Linked DNA regions of Homo sapiens: regions 1, 2, 3, 4, 6 and 7 are each linked to region 5. The links are contacts of gene promoters, found by promoter capture Hi-C in blood cells and fetal thymus (Javierre and others, 2016). All regions are on one chromosome and are shown on one strand. The core of a region is centred on a gene start or on the middle of the fragment in contact, and the rest is flanking DNA. Distances in the headings are between cores, read along the strand shown.

The links. Contacts are between HindIII fragments. The CHiCAGO score rates a contact against its expected background, and 5 or more counts as called.
Region 1: a fragment that was not itself captured here is called in contact with the fragment with the promoter of RAB3GAP1 in region 5 in 2 of 17 cell types (monocytes and naive CD8 T cells); the score reaches 7.2 in monocytes.
Region 2: a contact is called between a fragment that was not itself captured here and the fragment with the promoter of RAB3GAP1 in region 5, in 1 of 17 cell types (monocytes). The highest score is 5.3, in monocytes.
Region 3: a contact is called between the fragment with the promoter of DARS1-AS1 here and the fragment with the promoter of RAB3GAP1 in region 5, in 1 of 17 cell types (naive CD8 T cells). The highest score is 5.9, in naive CD8 T cells.
Region 4: a contact is called between a fragment that was not itself captured here and the fragment with the promoter of RAB3GAP1 in region 5, in 2 of 17 cell types (total CD8 T cells and naive CD8 T cells). The highest score is 6.2, in total CD8 T cells.
Region 6: a fragment that was not itself captured here is called in contact with the fragment with the promoter of RAB3GAP1 in region 5 in 4 of 17 cell types (total CD4 T cells, naive CD4 T cells, erythroblasts and 1 more); the score reaches 6.3 in total CD4 T cells.
Region 7: a fragment that was not itself captured here is called in contact with the fragment with the promoter of RAB3GAP1 in region 5 in 10 of 17 cell types (naive CD8 T cells, total CD4 T cells, fetal thymus and 7 more); the score reaches 7.9 in naive CD8 T cells.

The regions. Positions count from the first base shown.
Region 1 is chr2:135,793,701-135,796,400 of GRCh38, forward strand. It overlaps LCT (lactase), which reads right to left. Exons shown (of 17, transcript NM_002299.4): 14 at 941-1,075. Among named protein-coding and RNA genes, the nearest start is that of LCT-AS1, 25 kb to the right of the region's middle. The HindIII fragment of the contact is 5,560 bases long and covers 1-2,700 here.
Region 2 is chr2:135,879,937-135,882,636 of GRCh38, forward strand. No RefSeq gene overlaps it. Among named protein-coding and RNA genes, the nearest start is that of MCM6, 4.8 kb to the left of the region's middle. The HindIII fragment of the contact is 3,748 bases long and covers 1-2,700 here.
Region 3 is chr2:135,983,867-135,986,566 of GRCh38, forward strand. It overlaps DARS1-AS1 (DARS1 antisense RNA 1), which reads left to right and starts at 1,310. Exons shown (of 4, transcript NR_110199.1): 1 at 1,310-1,650. DARS1 (aspartyl-tRNA synthetase 1) reads right to left here and starts at 1,760. Exons shown (of 16, transcript NM_001349.4): 1 at 1,537-1,760. The coding sequence starts at 1,602. RefSeq lists a silencer at 1,397-1,456 and an enhancer at 1,507-1,606. The HindIII fragment of the contact is 7,953 bases long and covers 27-2,700 here.
Region 4 is chr2:135,822,018-135,824,717 of GRCh38, forward strand. It overlaps LCT (lactase), which reads right to left. Exons shown (of 17, transcript NM_002299.4): 4 at 1,884-1,986; 5 at 3-81. It overlaps LCT-AS1 (LCT antisense RNA 1), which reads left to right. Exons shown (of 2, transcript NR_045486.1): 2 at 1-1,070. Among named protein-coding and RNA genes, the nearest start is that of LCT-AS1, 3.2 kb to the left of the region's middle. The HindIII fragment of the contact is 2,076 bases long and covers 236-2,311 here.
Region 5 is chr2:135,050,880-135,053,579 of GRCh38, forward strand. It overlaps RAB3GAP1 (RAB3 GTPase activating protein catalytic subunit 1), which reads left to right and starts at 1,413. Exons shown (of 24, transcript NM_012233.3): 1 at 1,413-1,446; 2 at 1,551-1,606. The coding sequence starts at 1,429. RefSeq lists an enhancer at 1,986-2,125. The HindIII fragment of the contact is 10,130 bases long and covers 1-2,700 here.
Region 6 is chr2:135,860,698-135,863,397 of GRCh38, forward strand. It overlaps MCM6 (minichromosome maintenance complex component 6), which reads right to left. Exons shown (of 17, transcript NM_005915.6): 8 at 1,910-2,051. Among named protein-coding and RNA genes, the nearest start is that of MCM6, 14 kb to the right of the region's middle. The HindIII fragment of the contact is 8,903 bases long and covers 1-2,700 here.
Region 7 is chr2:135,772,887-135,775,586 of GRCh38, forward strand. The region is part of intron 9 of UBXN4 (UBX domain protein 4); the gene reads left to right. Among named protein-coding and RNA genes, the nearest start is that of UBXN4, 32 kb to the left of the region's middle. The HindIII fragment of the contact is 6,305 bases long and covers 1-2,700 here.

The sequences.
Region 1 (2,700 bases), core at 171-2,670, 740 kb after region 5:
ATTAACTTAGAGAAATTTAAAAAACAATACAGGATATGGATGAAAAAGTCTCTAGATAAATAGATATCATAAAGAAAAAGACAATCGGCTGGGCGCAGTGGCTCACACCTGTAATCCCAGCACTTTGGGAGGCCAAGGCAAGGGGATCATCTGAGGTCAGGAGATAGAGACCAGCCTGACCAACATGGAGAAACCCTGTCTCTACTAAAAACACAAAATTAGCCGAGACCATTCTGGCCAACATGATGAAACCCCGTCTCTGCTAAAATACAAAAAAAAAAAAAAAAAAATTAGCCAGGCGTGGAGGTACGCGCCTGTAATCCCAGCTACTTGGAGGCTGAGGCAGGGGAATCACTGGAACCCGGGTGGTGGAGGTTGCAGTGAGCCAAGATTGTGCCACTGCACTCCAGCCTGGTGACAGAGCGAGACTCTGTCTCAAAAAAAATAAATAAAATAAAAACTGTTACTTAAAAGGTGAACCAAAATCTTTTACTATCTCTACTTCATAAAAGCATTGTTTAAAAAGAGAAAATAAAATTTTACTCTTGTATTATTGTAATATTTATTAATATTAAAGCGAATTTTGATAAAACCTAAACAATTTTTTTCTTGAAAATCCTTTTTAACAACCAAGCATTTTTAGAGTTAAGCAGCCTGTGAAAAAGAACGCAAAATAAATAAATTTTAAAAATGAAATAAAAAAACAAAAAGCCAAGCACATGTGCCCTAATGGGAGGTGCCCTGGAGACCCCGGCCTTCTCTCCCTCTTGCTTGCTGGAGATTTCCTTGGGATCTGTGGGGTGGCGAGCATCTTGCAAACCCCGGCACATTCGGCGTTGGAGGCCCTGTTTTGAGGCTGGGCAGGCCTCAGAGAGCACAGCCAAGGGCACCTTTCTGCCTTTTCCAGAGATGGCTCCGGGCTCCCTGTTGGTGGACTTACCTGTCTGCATCAAAAGAAGAGATGGCAGTGGCATAGTTGAGGTTGTAGGCGAGGACAGTGGTGTAGTGATTGAACCCAAAAAAGTCATAGGTGCCGTTGATCCTCCTCTTCTCACTCTCTGTAAATTCTGGCAGCCTGGGTGGAAGAAGCCATTGAGGGCAGGGCTTCAGGGAGAGCCATGCTTTGAGAAGAGAACGTCATAGGGCTGGGGCGGGGGAGCTCTCCGAACCCCAGGCACTTGGCAGTGAGTAGGGGAAACTGGCAGGGAAGGAGAAGAGGTCCTTCAGGCGGTGCAGGAAGCACTGCGGCTCCTCCAGCCAGACCATAAACCTGGCTTCCCTAGGTCTCTACAAGAGCCTCTGAAACCTGAAGGACCACACACACACGCACCCACGCGCGCGCGCGCACACACACACACACACACACACATGCATAAACAGTTTTTAATTTCCTTCAAACAACATATGCAAATTCTGATATTTAGCATCTATGACAGATTTCAAAATCAAGAGCATGCCTGAGGTACATATCTGAGACTCTTCCCCTATGTTTGTAAAGTTAGATCTTGTATAATTTTTTTTTTTTGTGGCTGAGTCTGGCTCTGTCACCTAGGCTGGAGTGCAGTGGCGCGATCTCAGCTCACTGCAACCTCCGCCTCCTGGGTTCAAGTGATTCTCCTGCCTCAGCCTCCCAAGTAGCTGGGACTACAAGCGCCTGCCACAACTCCTGGCTGATTTTTTATATTTTTGGTAGAGATGGGGTTTCACCATGTTGGCCAGGCTGGTCTTGAACTCCTGACCTCAAGTGATCCGCCCACCTCAGCCTCCTAAAGTGTTGGGATTACAGGCATGAGCCACCACACCCGGCCCTGTATCTTGTGTAATTTGTATTTCCGTTTTCTGCCCTTTCCAAGTTTCTCTGCTCCTCTTGGGGTTTGTTTAGGCATGCCTCTTTTCTCCAACTCTAATAATAATAATAATAATAATAATAATAATAATAGCTTCAAGATCTTCAAAGTAGCAGGGGAAATAATTTGCAAATTGAGTATTTGAGTTTGAATTTCTCAGTTCTCACGATTTCACTGAACTTTGTTTTCTTTCTTCCTTTTTTTTTTCCCAGACAGGGTCTCGCCCTGTCCTCCTGAGGACACTGCACGCCCCCTGAGGCTGGAGTGCAGTGGTGCAATCATAGCTCACTGCAACCTCAGTCTCCTGGGCTCAAGCAATCCTCTCACCTCAGCCTCCCAAGTAGTTGGGAATATAGGTGTGCGTCACCATGCCTAGATAATTTTTAAATTTTTTGTAAAGACAAAGTCTCACTATATTGCCCAGGCTGGTCTTGAACTCCTGGTCTCAAGCAATCCTCCTGCCTCAGCCTCCCAAAGTGCTGAGATTACTTGTGAGCCTGGGAACTTTGGCTTCTTAACCTGTAGATGGAGCATTTTCCAGGCACTCTGAGTGAAAAGCCTCTCCTGTAGAACCTGACTAATACACTTGTGTGCAGCATGTACAGGTGATCCTGAATGCATGCGCATGCCCACAGGGAGACCTGGGGCTTCTGGTTTAGGTGTGGCCCAGAGATGCCCTGCTGAGGCCTCTGACACTTTCATCTTGACCTTTCTGCTACCATTAACCTGAGGGATCAAGAACCTTCCTTCCCTGGGGTTTCTGAGATGATGGGAGAAAACCAAAGCACAGCCTCCTCCTGTCCCTGACGCTTCTGCTCAGAAGCCAGCAATGGCCTGTGGCACCAAAGCCAAG
Region 2 (2,700 bases), core at 56-2,555, 830 kb after region 5:
TAAACTGTACAATGTGATTTATGCTGAATACCTGGAAGTCTAAAATTTTTTTTTTTTTTTTTTTAAAGACAGGGTCTTGCTGTGTCACTCAGGCGGGAGTGCAGTGACACAATCACGGCTCATTGCAGCCTCGACTTCTTGGGATCAAGCGATCCTCCTGCCTCAGCCTTCCAAGTAGGTACATGCCACCACGCCTGGCTAATTTTTGTATTTTTTGTAGAGACGAGGTTTGGCTGTGTTGCCCAGGCTGGCCTCGAACTCCTGGGCTCAAGCGATCCTCTTGCCTTGGCCTCCCAAAGTGCTGGGATCACAGGTGTGAGCCACCACACTGGGGCCTTTTTTTTTTTTTTTTTTGAGACAGGGTCTTGCTGTGTCACCCAGGCTGGAGTGCAGTGACACAATCATGGCTCACTGCAGCCATGACCTCCTGGGCTCAAGTGATCCTCCCACGTCAGCCTCCCACGATGTGCACCACCATGCCTGGCTAATTTTTATATTTTTTGAAGAGACAAGATTTCCTCATGTCACCCAGGTCAGTCTTGAACTCCTGGGTTTGGGCAATCCTCCCAAAGTACTGGGATTACAGGTGTGAGACACCATGCCCAGCCATCCATGATTCTTTTTAAAAAATTATTTTAGAATAGCTTTGGATTTACCAAAAGTTGCAAAAGATAGTACAGAATTTTCAAATACACCTTGCCTATTTTCCTTTACTGTGAATATCTTACACTCTTATAATACATTTATTACAACTCAGGAACCAACTTTAGTATGTTAGTATTAACTAATATTGCACAATTTATTCAGATTTCACCAGTTTTTCCCTACTGTTCTTTTTCTCTTCCCAGATCTCATCCTGATGCCACATTACACTTAGTGGTCATGTCTTCTTAGACTCTTCTGGTTTGTAACAGCTTCTCAGACTTTCCATAGTTTTAATGCCAATGTCTCTCAGTTGGGATTTGTCTAACGTTTTTCTCATGATTAGACAGTGATTATGGGTTAGGGAAGGATGATCACAGAGGTAAAGTATACGGTTTCTTACCATTACCTTATGATTTTGAAGCAAAACATTGTATCTTTTCATTTGTAGATATTTCAGAATGATTTTCTAAAACATAAGGGTTCTTTTTCCTGAGACATGTTTTTAGCTGGGAAGGAAACATCCTTCAAACAGCTGTAGCAGTGCAGGTTAGTGATGCTTATTATTTTAAATATAACTGTAATATTTTCCAGAATCACTGACACTTCAACTTACACTAAATAAAACCAGCAGATTAAAAAGTTACATGATTTGTTGTGGGTGGTGTGCAATATTCAATAAGATATTTCTCATATTATGAAATATTTTCTTTCAATGCAGTCAACCCTCATCTTATAAAATATTTGGTATATTTTACTTCTTTTTTATTTATTTATTTAATTTTTTGAGACAGCATCTCACTCTGTCACCCAGGCTGGAGTGCAGTGGCACAATCACAGCTCACTGCAGCCTTAACCTCCTGGGCTCAGGTGATCCTCCCACCTCAGCCTCACAAGTAGCTGGGACTACAGGTGTGCACCACCATACTCAGCTAATTTTTGTATTTTTTGCAGAGATGGGGTTTCACCATGTTGCCCAGACTGGTCTCAAACTCCTGGGCTCAAGCTATACTCTTGCCTCAGCCTCCCAAAGTGCTGGGATTATAGGCATGAGCCATTGTGCCCAGCCCGTTCTACTTCTTATTAACAACAACAACAACAAATGTATGCTAGCTGCTAACCAGTTTTTAGCAGTATGACTTTCTTCCTAATTACTTAAATAAGCAAAGTTTGATCTTGATATCTAACAAAATAAGTTCAACTATGATGTCTAACAAAATAAGTTCAAATAATGGCAATTTTTAGTTATTTTTATATGATTCTTAGTTTTTCCAAAAGCTGAACACCAGAATTCCATACACACACACACACACACACACACACACACACACACACACACACAGAGTTAATTTTATGTGCCAACTTGAGTGGGTCATGGGCTGCCCAGATTAAATATTATTTCTGCTTGTGTCTTTGAGGGGTTTCTGGAGGAGATTAGCATTTGAATAGACAGAATCTGTATAATAGATTGGCCTGCCCAGTGTGGGTGGGCACCATCCAGTCAGTTAAGGGCCTGAATGGAACAAAAGACAGAGGAAAGAGGAGTTTGCCCTCTTTTCCCTGCCTTACTGCCTGAACTGGGACATCTTGTCTCATCGTATGCCTTCAGATAAGATTTACACCGTTGTCTCCCCTGGTTTTCAGCCCTTCAGGTTGAGACTGAACTACCTACCAGCTTTCCTGGGTTTCCAGCTTGCAGATGCCAGCTCATAGGATTTCCCAGTCTCCTAATTGCATGAGCCAGTTCCTCATAATAAATCTGCCCCCCCCCCCCTCCTATTAGTTCTGCTCTCTGGAGAACCTGGCTAATACACTCACTTTTAACTTTCATATACTCCTCAATTCATAATAACCTATCATTTTAAATATACTTTACATTATATTATAAATTAAGAAATATGAAGCTGCATACAAATTTACTCTTGTTTTATAGCTACCATAAAATGCTTTTATGTCCCCCTTAAGATCCTCCCAGGTTCACTTGTCTGTCATTCAGCTCCATATGGGCTCTGAGTCGCTCATTGATGACTCTTGCCCTCTGTGGCTCTCAGGCTTCTC
Region 3 (2,700 bases), core at 60-2,559, 930 kb after region 5:
TTCAAAGAGAACCAACGTTTTGGGTAAGCTTTCTGAGCACCAGATGTCCACAGTTTTTAGAAACTGGAGATGCTGGGTATAAGCTAACTACAACTTTCCTTTTGTAAAACATCATCAAAAAATTCACCAGCTTCCTGTTTCTAAAAACCAGATTCAGGATACCAGGTTACAGGAGTTTGACACTGACAATATAATAATATCAAATTTCTTGTTACAGATTAGAGTTAGGAACAGGAAACAGAAGACCTAGGGTCCAATCTGTTAACAAAATATACTTATTAAATAGATAAGTGGCCTTTATTTCAATCTTACTTTACCTCTAAAATGATCTAAGATTCTTCTAGCTATAAAATGGCATAACTCTGCCACAATGTCTACCTTGTATCTAGACCTATACTATCTGTAAGGGTACACTGATAGTTTATGTAATTAAGCAGATTAAGAGTACACAAAAATAATTGCCCTAGTTTTTACAAGGTAACTTAAGATCTGTATGAAACAATTAAGTTTCTGTCACTTTACAGCTACCTGTTGGAATCCTCTCCTTTAGAGCAGGAGGGTGCTGGATTTTGTGTTTACACCAAAATAAAACCAGACATGTTTAAGGCGCTTACTGAACAATTTAAAGAAAAAGATAACCCTGGCCAGAGTAGAGAGATACAGTCACACAATGAAGCCTGAGGGCAACAGAAGGAGATTAAATTGTGTGAAGGACAAAAAAGTTGCATTCATAATTAGTACTATTAATATTTCAGTGACTCTTCCTCATTTAGTATTCTAAGATGACCTTACTTCTCATGTTGCTTACCACAAACTCAGAACTCCTTATAGAAAAATTAGGGAGCCAGACGGAAATTAAGGCTTAACAGTACTACAGCACACATAACTTGTAGGATGGTTTCAAACTTTGATTTCTGAAAAGCACCGAAGGATCACTGGGTGTTATGAATTATCCACGTGATTTGGGGTCACTTCACCTCAAATGCATTCTCGGTAACTCCTATTACCTACCTTACCGGGTCACTGAGAGGGAGAAAGTAAATAAAAATGACATGTGTTCTTTAAAGCTGTCACATGGGAAATGGTCATTAAACATATTGGCAGATGGTTTTGCTAAGTACTGTCATTACTTGCTAAAGCATTAGGAACACGAGGGCTGAGTACATATCGATTACTAGTGCTTATTAAAATTTTCCCAGGGATTGTGCATTACGTGCAGGACGTGCCTAACCCAGAGAGACTCAAGTGTGACGCCGCGCTCCTACTTCCGGGGCGGCTGGTTCTTCCCGTCCTCCCCACCCCGGGGACACGCTTCTAGTAGGCCAAACTCCCAGGTGACCCCCGCAAGAAACGCGGTCCGGAGAGGGTCTGGCCCCACTGCTGGGGCAAGGGCTCTAGGCGCCCGGACCCCACGCCCGCAGCCTGCGGAGAACGTGCCGACAAGGACCTGTAGGGCCCCACTCCCCCTCCTCCCTCCCTCGGCGCAGCCCGGCCCAGGGGTCTGTCCTCCCAGGCCCAGGAAAGGAGGAAACCCACTTCCGCCGCGTCCATGATCTCCCGCGGCTTCTCCTGACTCTTGCGGCTGGCGCTGGCGCTGGGCATCGGGACACGGAACTGGGCAGTGGACACCACCCTCCCTCGCAGGCTTCCGTAAGGCAGGCCAAAGGGGCTTCTCCCTCCCTCCCAGTCTCCGCCCTCCCGACCCTGGGGTCTCAGCACACGCGCTCGGACTCCGCGTGGAGGTGCGGCTCCAGAAAGATCGCGAGAGCTGCGGCTATCTCGAGATCCCGGAGCGCTGGCGGCCGCGCGCAGGGTCTCCTCCCACTCTTGCCCCGCCCCTCCGGGAGTTTTCCCGGAGTTGGAGGGAATTCCCGGGAATTCGCGGTAGTTTCGCTGGATTGGCTCTGGGGGCGGGGGCAGGGGTTACCAGGTGGCTGGCTGTAGACCTGGGCGAATGCCAGCTCTCTTCAGCTTCGTCCCAACTGCGACTTCTGCTCCATTCTTCTAACAGCCCTTTCAACTCCGCTCGGCTGTAACCGCAGACTCGTCACTAAAACACCCACCTAAGCGCGGGCCTTGGTTTCTCCTCTCTTGGACTTTCCCGCCTTCTCTCTTCCCCTGGGCGACGTAGCTGCTTGGGGACGGAGGAGGCCTCTTCGCAATCCATTGCCCTGCTTGTTGGGACAGAGGAGTGCAGTTGGCTTGCCAAGGCAGCATGGGTTACCAGTCCCTGTGTAAGTGAGGTGTAAATACAGTGGCAACGACAACAAGAAACGCATACAATTGCATTGATTGCCTGGATCTGTTGCAGTGTTAGGGACAGTGCATAGTGTTGGTTGCCCAATGGGCGAATATCCCCAAGTTAGGCTTTTTTAAAAAACTGATTTTTTAAAAAAGCTATCATTCATGAGTTTTGAATCGAAATTGAAAATAATTTGGAGATTTGGTTTAATACTGTTTCCCCTGCCAGAGTTTGCACTCCGTCGTTTCAACTGACTTGGTAGTGTCTTAGTCTGGCACAAAGTGTTAAGGGGTGCACATAGATCCCAGCGCAAGTGAAAGGCTCTCTCTGGAGGCTCCCCCATGGAGTAGTGAGAAGACAGCCATGGTCCTTGCTTGCCTGTAGCTTTCCTTCTAATTGCAGGTGGTATGAAATTTTATTCCCTATTTAATTGATCAAAGATTATTTACAAACATCTA
Region 4 (2,700 bases), core at 24-2,523, 770 kb after region 5:
ACCTTTTCTTGGAACTTGATGAACAACTCAGAAACTCATTAATATCAAACCCAATGGTGAGCACTTGGTCTTTATTTATGGCTGTAAGAGAAGAAATTGAATTAACTCTATGTAAATGCCAACTAAGAACATGCAAGTCTGAAATCAACAGTTTTCCTCGCTCATACGACACACCCAAACTCCAAGCAGTGGTTCCAAGCCCCTTTGGAAAATACCATGGGCTAACGACTTTAAAAGCTTAGAAGTGAATTCTACTTACTTATTACTTAAAAGTGGTTCTCAAACTTCAAGGTGAATCAAAATCATCTGTAGAGCTTGTTAAAACACAGGTTGCTGGTCCCACCCCAAGAGTGTCTGATGCAGTAGGTCTCAAGTAGGGCTCAAGAATATGCATTTCTAATGAGCTCCCAGGTGATGCTAATGTTGATGCTGCTGGTCTGGGGACCACAACTTTGGGAACAATTGATTTAGAAGAACTCAAAGATCAGAAAGGGGTGGAATATTTTTAAAATTGTGGTAAAATACGCATAAACAGAAAAGGTACAATTTTAACCACTTAGAGAGAGGTGGGATCTAAGAACAGAAATTGTTATGCCATCAAAGGTGAGTTCAGATAAGCATTATTAAATGGTATCTATGGATAAACTTCAGGGGCCCTGTGGAGCCAACCCATTGCTGGGATGGGGTCCAGGTGTGCTATGGTTTGGATGTGGTTTGTCCCTACAAAAACTCATGTTGAAATTTAATTGCCAGTGTAACATTATTGAGAGGTTATGGACTTTTAAGAGGCATTTGGGTCATGAGGGATCCGCCTTCAGGGATTAGTGCAGTCTCCAGGGAGTGAGTGAGTTCCCATTCTAGTGGGACTGGATTAGTTACCATACAGTGGTTGTTATAAAGTGAGGCTGCTTCTGGTGTTTTATCTGTTTGCAGGCACTTCCTTCCCCTTCCACTTCTCTGCCAGGTTAGGATGCAGCATGAGGCCCTCACCAGAAGCTGACCAGATGTGGCTGCCTGATCTTGAACTTCCCAGTCCCCAGAACCATGAGCTAAATAAACCTTTTTTCTCTATAAATTACGCAGTCTAGAGTATTCTATTATAGCAACACAAGACAGACTAAGACACAGTGGTAGAAAGAACACTACTGACTTCTCCCATACTCTGGCCTATGGACAAGAGTGACAGACAGACAAGAGTGAATATCAGGGCCCTCAGGCACATTCCTCTCTGCCCCTTCCTCCCTTCTTGCAGAGTCTCCAGTGACTGCCAGCCTCAATGCTATCATAGACCCCACCTTTCCCCTGACTTGATTGGACCAGAAGCAGCCTCCTGATCCATGGCCAACAATCAGATTCACTTTCAAGAATTTGAACTAAGAGACACTAGGAAGATGGCCCTTGAGCTGTGAGTCCTACACTTGAAAGTTCTTAGCATCTTGGTCAGGTACCCACCAGGGCCATGTGCAAACTGAGATAATGGGGACATGGAACAAGGGTAAGTGGAGAGGGCTGGCTGGAGAGAGACGGGCAGAGGAAAGCCCTGCCAAGAGGAGCAGAGATGAGAGACCTTGGAGGGAGAGGTAATAAAAGGAGGCAAAGATGATTTTCCATGCTTACAACTCACAGCTGAGGCCTAACTATCTTTATGTCCATAAGAGGCATCCTTGTGTCGAACCTCTCCTCTTTCTTGGGTCAATGGGGGATGGTTGCAAGGGACCATCAGTAGGAAGGCATAGTACACTAACCCAGTCTGGGGTGGGCTTTTATACTAGTCTTCCTCCCATGCTCCTCCTCCCATTGGAACCCCGGACTTTCAAGACTGCTACCTAGCACACCAGTGCACCAGATGTCACTCAAAACCTCTTCAGCAATGGCCCACTCACCTTCAAAAAGGCTGAAGAGCAGACTGGCTGGGTTCTTCATGGTGGAGGGGCAGTCTGGGAGTTTTAGGTTGAAGATGAAAACTTTCACTTTTGGCTCAATGGTCTGAAAAAGAGAAGGACCAGCAAGTGAACTGAAGCCTCCTGGAAAGCATCTTGATAACAGGGACAGAGTTTCAAGATGAGAAGCTGTGGCACTTACTCTGGCTTTGGAAATGACCTCTAAGTATCTCAGTTAATTAAAGGAGTCAACTCTAGACTCTGAAGGAGAAAGATCTACAATTTTCAATAACATAGTCTACCCTCCCCACCAACCCCCACCTTCACCTCTTCTTTCATCACAGGCTTACAGGGCACCTCTTAGAGCCAGGCACGGTGTTAGGATCAGGAACAAGGCCACTGCTCACATCCAGAGCCTGTGCTACTTAAGAAGCTTAGTTAAGAGGCCACCATCTATGGATGTCTGGGATTTGCTTCAAAATAATCCAGTTTGGTTAGCTGGGTGTGGTGGTGCATGCCTGTAGTTCCAGCTACTTGGGAGGCTGAGCCAGGAGGATCGCTTGAGCCCAGGAGTTTAAGGCTGCAGTGAGCTATGATTGCACCACTGCACTCCAGCCTGGGTGACAGAGCAAGATCCTGTCTCTAAAAAAAATTTTTTTTAATTAAAAATCTAGTTTGGGAGATAGAAGTTATAGGTTAGGTGAAAGAAGATTAGCTATGAGCCAATAATAGCTCTTGCAGCTGGAGATGGCTTCGTAGGGGTTCATCATTCTTTTTACTTTTGGATGTTAGAAATTTTCCAAAACAAAAAGTTACAGCA
Region 5 (2,700 bases), core at 163-2,662:
AGTGCTTCCTCCAGCCAAAAACTGAGCAAACAGTGATAGCCAAGGCCACTGTTTTCTTGGGGAGATCCTGGCCAATGATTGACGGAGCAAGGCAGTAGTACAAGGGGCTACGCATTTCCTGATGCATAATTTTTGCCCTAGCACTTCCAGTTGGACTTCAGAGACTTCGCCAGCTTGGAATTGTAGTGTCTGCTTTTTTAGAGCACCAGTCTGAAAAAAAAATAGTGAAAAAGCAAGCTGCAGAGTGGGAGAAGGTATTTGCTACATATATAAACAATATAAAGCTCAGATGCAGAATATATATAAATAACTTGAAGGTGTTAAAATAAAGACAAGGCCAGGCACAGTGGCTCACACCTGTAATCCCAGCACTTTGGGAGGCCGAGGGGGGCGGATCACAAGGTCAGGAGATCGGGACCATCCTGGCCAACATGGTGAAACCCCATCTCTACCAAAAATACAAAAATTAGCTGGGTGTTGTGGCGCATGCCTGTAATCCCAGCTACTCGGGAGGCTGAGGCATGAGAATCACTTGAACCCAGGAGGCAGAGATTGCAGTGAGCCGAAATCGCGCCACTGCACTCCAGCCTGGCGACAGAACCGAGGTGGGCAGATCATGAGGTCAGGAGATCGAGACCATCCTGGCTAACACGATGAAACCTCATCTCTACTAAAAATACAAAAAATTAGCCGGGCGTGGTGGCGAGCGCCTGTGGTCCCGGCTACTCGGGAGGCTGAGGCAGGAGAATGGCGTGAACCCGGGAGGCGGAGCTTGCAGTGAGCCAAGATCGTGCCACTGCACTCCAGCCTGGGCGACAGAGCAAGACTCCGTCTCAAAAAAAAAAAAAAAAAAAAAAAAAAAAAAAAAAAAATGAAGCGTTTGTTGAACACCATGTTGCTCTTCCCAGAAACCAGGTAACTAGTATGATTTTATTTCAGGACAATCAACTGAGCAACTTCTTGCAGGGTCAGGGGCAGAGGGTAGAAGTGGTATTACAGCACCTAGTTTATTGCCTTACAATCAATAAATAGAGGGTGAATGAAAAGAAACCCAATAGTTAAAGTGTAAGCTAATTGGTACTAACTACAAATATGGGTTGAATGAAAACAAACCCAACATGCTTTAGGTTTTTTAATACAATCTTATCCACATGAGTTTAGGGTCTTGTCCTATCACCTTGGCTTCTGTTCCCTTTCTGTATTCATCACAGGAAATTTTCAAGTTTTATGAAACCAGCTAGAGCGGAGTTTTATTAACCAGCTGAGGGCGGACTAAAGACTTAACAGACCTGGGCGAAGAAGCAGCACTCCTACTTACTAGGGCAAGACTCATGAACAGGGGGCGGGGGCTCCGGGGGCGGGGACGCGCCCCGTTCTCTTTCGCTCTTCTTCCCGGCAGCCTTAGCGCCAGGCCCGGCGCTCCTCAAGATGGCTGCCGACAGTGAGGTGATTTCTTTGCTCCCTACTTAATCCTTGTCACTATCTAAATTCGTTCCTCATGTCTTCGCCTTGGGGCTTAATTTCTTTTTCTCTCCTTCCCCTTCCCGCAGCCCGAATCCGAGGTATTTGAGATCACGGACTTCACCACTGCCTCGGAATGGGAAAGGTGAGTGAATCGCATTTTTGGTTACCAGCTCCCATGGGCCCTGGCGTCCCCTAGCCGCTTCCCTGACCCCAGACACACCACAAGTGACGCCACTTGTGCGGGAACGGTAATACCGTGGGTCCCGGGTCTCCTCCCCCAGTCTTCTTTGGTCAACCGCAAGCCTCTTCCGCGTCTCGCGTCTGGCAACACCCGGCCCGCCCCCGTCAGCCAATCCCTGAGGCTCAGGCTCTCAGAAAGTTTTGTTTTCTCTCCTGTCAGACCGCTTCCCTTAGACTTTGGTTTTCTGGTTGTTACCCACTCGCAAGAAAAATTTCCGAGGCTGCAACAACCGTTCCGGTTTTCATTACCGTTTAACTCATTATCGTAAGCAGTAAACTTGGTAGGTTGTGCCGCACCTCATCCCGTGTACGTTGGTATACCCTTTTCAGGAGGAAGTCTTTCTTCAGAGTATTGGTAGTTGTCCATCTGTCACACTCCCACCATCTCCATGCTGTCTTTAATTTTTTATTTTTATTTATTTTTGGAGACAGAGTCTCAGTCTGTCCGCCCAGGCCGGAGTGCAGTGGCGAGGTCATAGCTTACTGCGGCCTCGAACTCCTAGGCTCAAGTGAAGCTCCCGCTTTAGCCTCGGGAGGAGCTGGGACCACAGGCACGCGCTATTACGCCCAACTAATTTTTTAAAGATCTCGCTGTGTTGCCCAGGCTAGTCTTGAACTCCTGGGCTCAAGCCTGGGCCGCCCAAAGTGCTGAGATTACAGGCGTGAGCCTCCGCCCATCCTGTCTTTTAGAATAACCTTTTTAAAAAGTCTGCATATGGTTTTGGAATGCTTTGATTTAAGTTGTTACATTAAAGTGGGTACTGTGCCCAGGCTTCCTGTGCCTGTCAAATTCAGATGAACAGCTGTCTGGGTGAAACTGTTCTATTACTGAAATTAGTTGAAAGCCAAGTTTGTGGAGGAGTGATAGCTTAGATCGAGAAGGTTTCTGTTAAGTGTCACAGAAACCCTTCAGTTTCCTGGGTGTTGAAGTCAGTGTTTACGCTGTTACAGCATTTTATAATCTTTCTGGTTGGGAGAGGAAATTTGTGGATGTCG
Region 6 (2,700 bases), core at 175-2,674, 810 kb after region 5:
GGTTTTCCTAAGTCTAATAAAGGGTTTTTTCTTTAACCTGACAAAGGGCATCTATGAAAACCCACAGATAACATCAAACTTAAAGGTGAAAGGCTGAATGTTTTGCCCCTAAGATCAGGAATAAGACATGGATGTCTGCTCTTGCCACTTCTATTCAACATTATACTGATGGCTCTAATCAAGGACAATTAGGCAAGAAAAAAAGGCAGCCAGATGGGATACTCCGACTATCATTATATACAGATTTTATACATAGAAAATGCTATGGAATCCACTAAGACTGTCACATACCACATGACACTGTTACCAGAGGCAACATTGTAGTACATCTTTCTTTTTGAGGGGGGAGAAAGAATGACAAGAAAAAAAAAAGAATCCTTTGTAACACAGGACTACTATCTTAAAATCTAAAACTCAGTCTGTGATATGTTCAAAAGAAATATTTAATCATAAAACTCCAAACCAACTAAAAATGTTCAATATTCTAAAATGGTACTATGCTACAAATTTCCAAAACAAAGAAAAGGCAGCTTGATGTAGTATGAAGTACACATGTTTTGCAGGCAACTGTATCTGAATTTTAATATTCATGGCTCGGTGTCACCTTTCACCTACAAGAAAGTGGGCAAATTTCTTGTAGGCTTGGAGAGGTTGTGACTCTCTGAAAAAAAAAGGGAATAATACACATGCCTGTCTGGGTGCTGCTAGAGTAAGACATAACACATATACAGCACTGAGAACATGGCAGGTGCTCAGAAACTTGTTGCTTTTATTTTGGGCCCTAAGTTTCTTAAAAGTTTGAAAGTAATCAAATATTTATTATAGCTTCTAAAAACAGTCAAAAATTGTGTTCACACTGACAAAGTTAACATAAAATATCTCATAGCAGCATTCCCTTTGGAAAGTACATCCTATTTTATTTTTATTTTTTTTGAGACGGAGTCTTGCTCTGTTGCCCAGGATGGAGTGCAGTGGCGCAATCTCGGCTCACTGCAAGCTCCGCCTCCTGGGTTCACGCCATTCTCCTGCCTCAGCCTCCCAAGTAGCTGGGACTGTATACAGGCGCCCGCCACCACACCTGGCTAATTTTTTGTATTTTTAGTAGAGACGGGGTTTCACCGTGTTAGCCAGGATGGTCTCCATCTCCTGACCTCATGATCCGCCCGCCTTGATTTCCCAAAGTGCTGGGATTACAGGCGTGAGCCATGGCACCCGGCCAGTACATCCTATTTTAAAACCTTACAAATGTTTGTATTCTTAGTCTCAACAATCCTGTATCTAGCAATTTACCCAGAGGAAACAAACAAAAAATGTATATAACATTATGATGTTCACTGCATCTATATCGGTAATTATTATAATAAACTATCCTGTTAAATTTAACAGGGCTAAGAAAATGATTTTGTAAGCTATAGTATACCAACAAAAAAAGACAATTGTGAAAATGACAAACTCATGAGATTTTTCCATGCGAAAAGAAACATGGAAAAAATGTTTATAGAAAATTGAAATTACAAGTATGTATAATATGATTTACAATAATGAAAATACATAATTCATATTTTTATACAAATAATAAAATTTGTATAAAATTTTATACAAATAATAAAATTTGTATAAAATTTTATACAAATAATAAAATTTGTATAAAATTTTATACAAATATATTTTACAAAGATATTATACAAAGACTAAACAGTTCAATGTGAGATTGGTATTACAGGCAATTTTTCCCTATTCTAAAAAATTGTACAATGTTGCCATAACTTTAATCTATGAGAATTATATATTCAACATAGTCATAATTTACACTCCTAGTAAGGCCATACTGACTGCATTCTTGGTAGCACAGCCAGCCTGGGAACTATGTACACTTTTTCCTGCAACACTGTATCAGGCAAACGCTTACTTGAGAAATTGGCTCTTAGCTGTACTTGGGTCACCAACAATGCAAACATTTATGTCCCCTCGAAGAGAGGTCCCTTCTCCTGTTGTCTTTGGAACGCCACCAAAGAGCATCAGCAGGACACCCCGTTTTACTTCATCATTGCCTGAAATGAAAAGAAGCTACAGATGAAAAACTAATTTTTCAACATGAAGTTAAACACTTTCAGAAGAAACAGTAAAGGCATGTTTACCAACCGAAAGGCAGAGTCAGCTAAAGCAAAGCATAAAACTGGAGTAATAACACCTGGCTTCCGATCTTGGTTCTTGTTCTGTGGACTTAGTCACCTAAACCACTGTTCCAATGTTTTCTCCTACACCACAGATGTCACCGTGCCAGTGCTCACCATCCTAAGAGCCTTTACTTGTCCATGAGTCCTACTTCCTACACAAAACCTTACCCAATGCCTTAGCCCTCAAAGATCTCTCCTGATAAATGAACTATGTCCACCAAGGCCTACCACATTTGCTAGTCCTTTTTAATGCCAGTTCTTATAGTTCTGTGAAGAGTTTGAGGAAATGGTTCATAACACTTTTCTATCACCTACAGTGACCAGCACTGAATAAATATATGTTAACTGAATTCATGTGGATTAAATAAGATGCTGAATGCAATTTACAGCTGCTTAGTTCATAAATCCAATAAGAAGGAAAAACAATTTTCTTAAAAAAGAACACTGTGCTATTAAAAGAAACATTTTTCTGTGGAACTGTCGACTCTCTGAACTCCATCAACAAAGTGCTATGCAAAGTTAC
Region 7 (2,700 bases), core at 153-2,652, 720 kb after region 5:
ATTAGCTGGGCATGGTGGCGGGCGCCTGTAGTCCCAGCTACGCGGGAGGCTGAGGCAGGAGAATGGCGTGAACCCGGGAGGCGGAGCTTGCAGTGAGCCGAGATTGCGCCACTGCACTCCAGCCTGGGCGACAGAGCGAGACTCCGTCCCCAAAAAAAAAAAAAAAAAAAAAGAGGGCCCAATAAATACCTGTTTTCCAAAGACAGAAATGATTTGTAACCAAATGAATATAATGTTTATCTCATACGTATTAGGATTCTTTATTTTTCAGAATCCCCTATCCGATAGGATTAAGCAAAAGAGGAAATACATTGGCTCTGCAGTTCAGAAATCCAAGGGTGAATTTGGTTAGGCATAGCTGTGTCCAGCAATCTAAAGGATACCATTACAATTTCTCTCTCTCTTTTTAATTCTTGGTTTCTTCTGTTTTAGCTTCATTCTTAGAGAAACTCTCCAAATGGTGTCAGGAGAGCCCAGCACCTCCTGGCACTTTCAGGACCTTGAATTCACGATCCCAGACAGAAGAGATTAACCTTTTCTCTCTCATGCCTGTATCAGTCACTGAGAATTCTGACTGCCCCTGTTTGGATCATGTGGCCACCTTCAGAGTAGTCAGTGTCCACATGTGTGGGCCCTCTGGTTGGAGGAGGTGACATGCCCAATCTTGTGGTGAAGGAGGTGGGGGAAATGTTATTGATAATTATACCAGAACGAATGACACATAGCAGGGTAAGAAGGCAGTTCCCAAAACAAAAATATGTTGAAAAGACAAAAAAAGTTTAGATTTCTAGTACACCTTGCTAATTGGATTATGGTTAATACTTATTGTCTTCTCTGTGCCTTTTCATATTTCCATATTGGACAGTTAACAAGTAGTATTTTGTAATCAGAAAAATTTTTAAAAATAATTTTCCAAAAATAATGAAGTAATAAATTTAACAAAAATGTAAGATTTGTGTGCTAAAAATGACAAAACATTGTTGAAAGATTTAAGACCTAAATACCTGGAAAGTATCCTATGTTCATGGATAAGAATACTTAACATTGTTAAGATGATAATCCTCCCTAAACTGATCTAACTGATCTATAGATTCAACACTCCTATCAAAATTCCAGCTGGCTTTTTTCCATAAATTATAAACCTAAAATTCATATGGAAATGCAAGAAACACAATAGTTAAAACAAACTGGAAAATGAAGATAGATGACTCATACTTCCTGATTTTCAAACTTACTGCAAAGCTATACAGTGATGTAATGGTATAAGATGAACATACAGGTCATTGTAATAGAATGGAGTCTCTAGAAATAAACCCTTACATTTATGAACTGTTTATTTTTGAAAAGGGTACCAAGACTATTCAGTGGGAAAGAAGAATCTTTTCAACAAAAGGTGCTTGGACAACTGAATATCTACATGCAAAATAATGAATTTGGACCTTTACCTCACACCATGTACAAAATTAACTTAATGGATCATCTACCAAAAAGTAAAACTATAAAATATATATTCTTAGAGGAAAAAAGAGGAATATATTTTTGTGATCTAGGAGTAGCCAATGGATTGTTAGACATGGCACTAAAAGCACAGGAACAAAATTTAAAAATAGGTAAATCGCACTTCCAAAATTTAAAACTTTCGTGCTTTGAAGGATATCATCAAGAAAGTGCAAAGAAGCTGGGCATGGTAGCTCACACCTATAATCCCAGCACTTTGGAAGACTGAGGCAGGCGGATCACTTACGGCCAGGAGTTCAAAACCAGCCTCGCCAACGTGGCAAAAAACCGTCCCTACTAAAAATACAAAAATTAACTAGGCATGGTGGTGCACACCAGTAATCCCAGCTACTCAGGAGGCTGAAGCATGAGAATCGCTTGAACCAGGGAGGCGGAGGTTGTAGTGAACCGAGATTGCGCCACTGCACTCCAGCCTGGGCGACAGAGTGGGACTCTGTCTCAAAAAAAAAAAAAAATGCAAAGAACAACCCATAGAATTGGAGAAAATATTTGCAAATCATATATTTGATGAGAGACTTGTGTCTAGAATATAAAAAGAACCTGTGACTCAATTATAAAGACACCCAGTTCAAATATGTGGAAAGGATTTGAATAGACATTTCTCCAAAGAAGATAAACAAATGGCCAGTAAGCACATGAAAAGATGTTCAACATCATTAGTCATTAGGGAAATCAAGTCAGAACCACAATGAGATACCATTTCACACCCACTAAGTATGCCTAAATGTAAAGAGAAAGTAATAAGTGTTTGTGAGGATGTGGAGAATTTGGAACCTTTCTGTGTTACTGGTGGGATTGTAAAATGATGTAGCCACCTTGGAAAACAGTTTGCCAGTAACGCAAAATGTTAAACATAGTGTTATCATAGGACCCAGGAGTTCTACAGCAGCAGTTTATACAGCAGTTTATATCCAAGAGAATTGAAAACGTCAACACAAAAACCTGTACATGAGTATAGCAGCATTAGTCAAAATAGCTAAAATGTGGTAATAACCCAAATGTCCAGCAACTGAAGAATGTGTAAACTGTATCTCATACAACAATGTTTTTCAGCAATAGGAATAAGAACTGATACCTGCAACAACATGGATGAACCTTGAAAATACAATTTCCATGAAAAAAGCAAGTTACAAAGGTCACATACTGTATGATTCTATTACACAACATGCCCAAAATAGACAA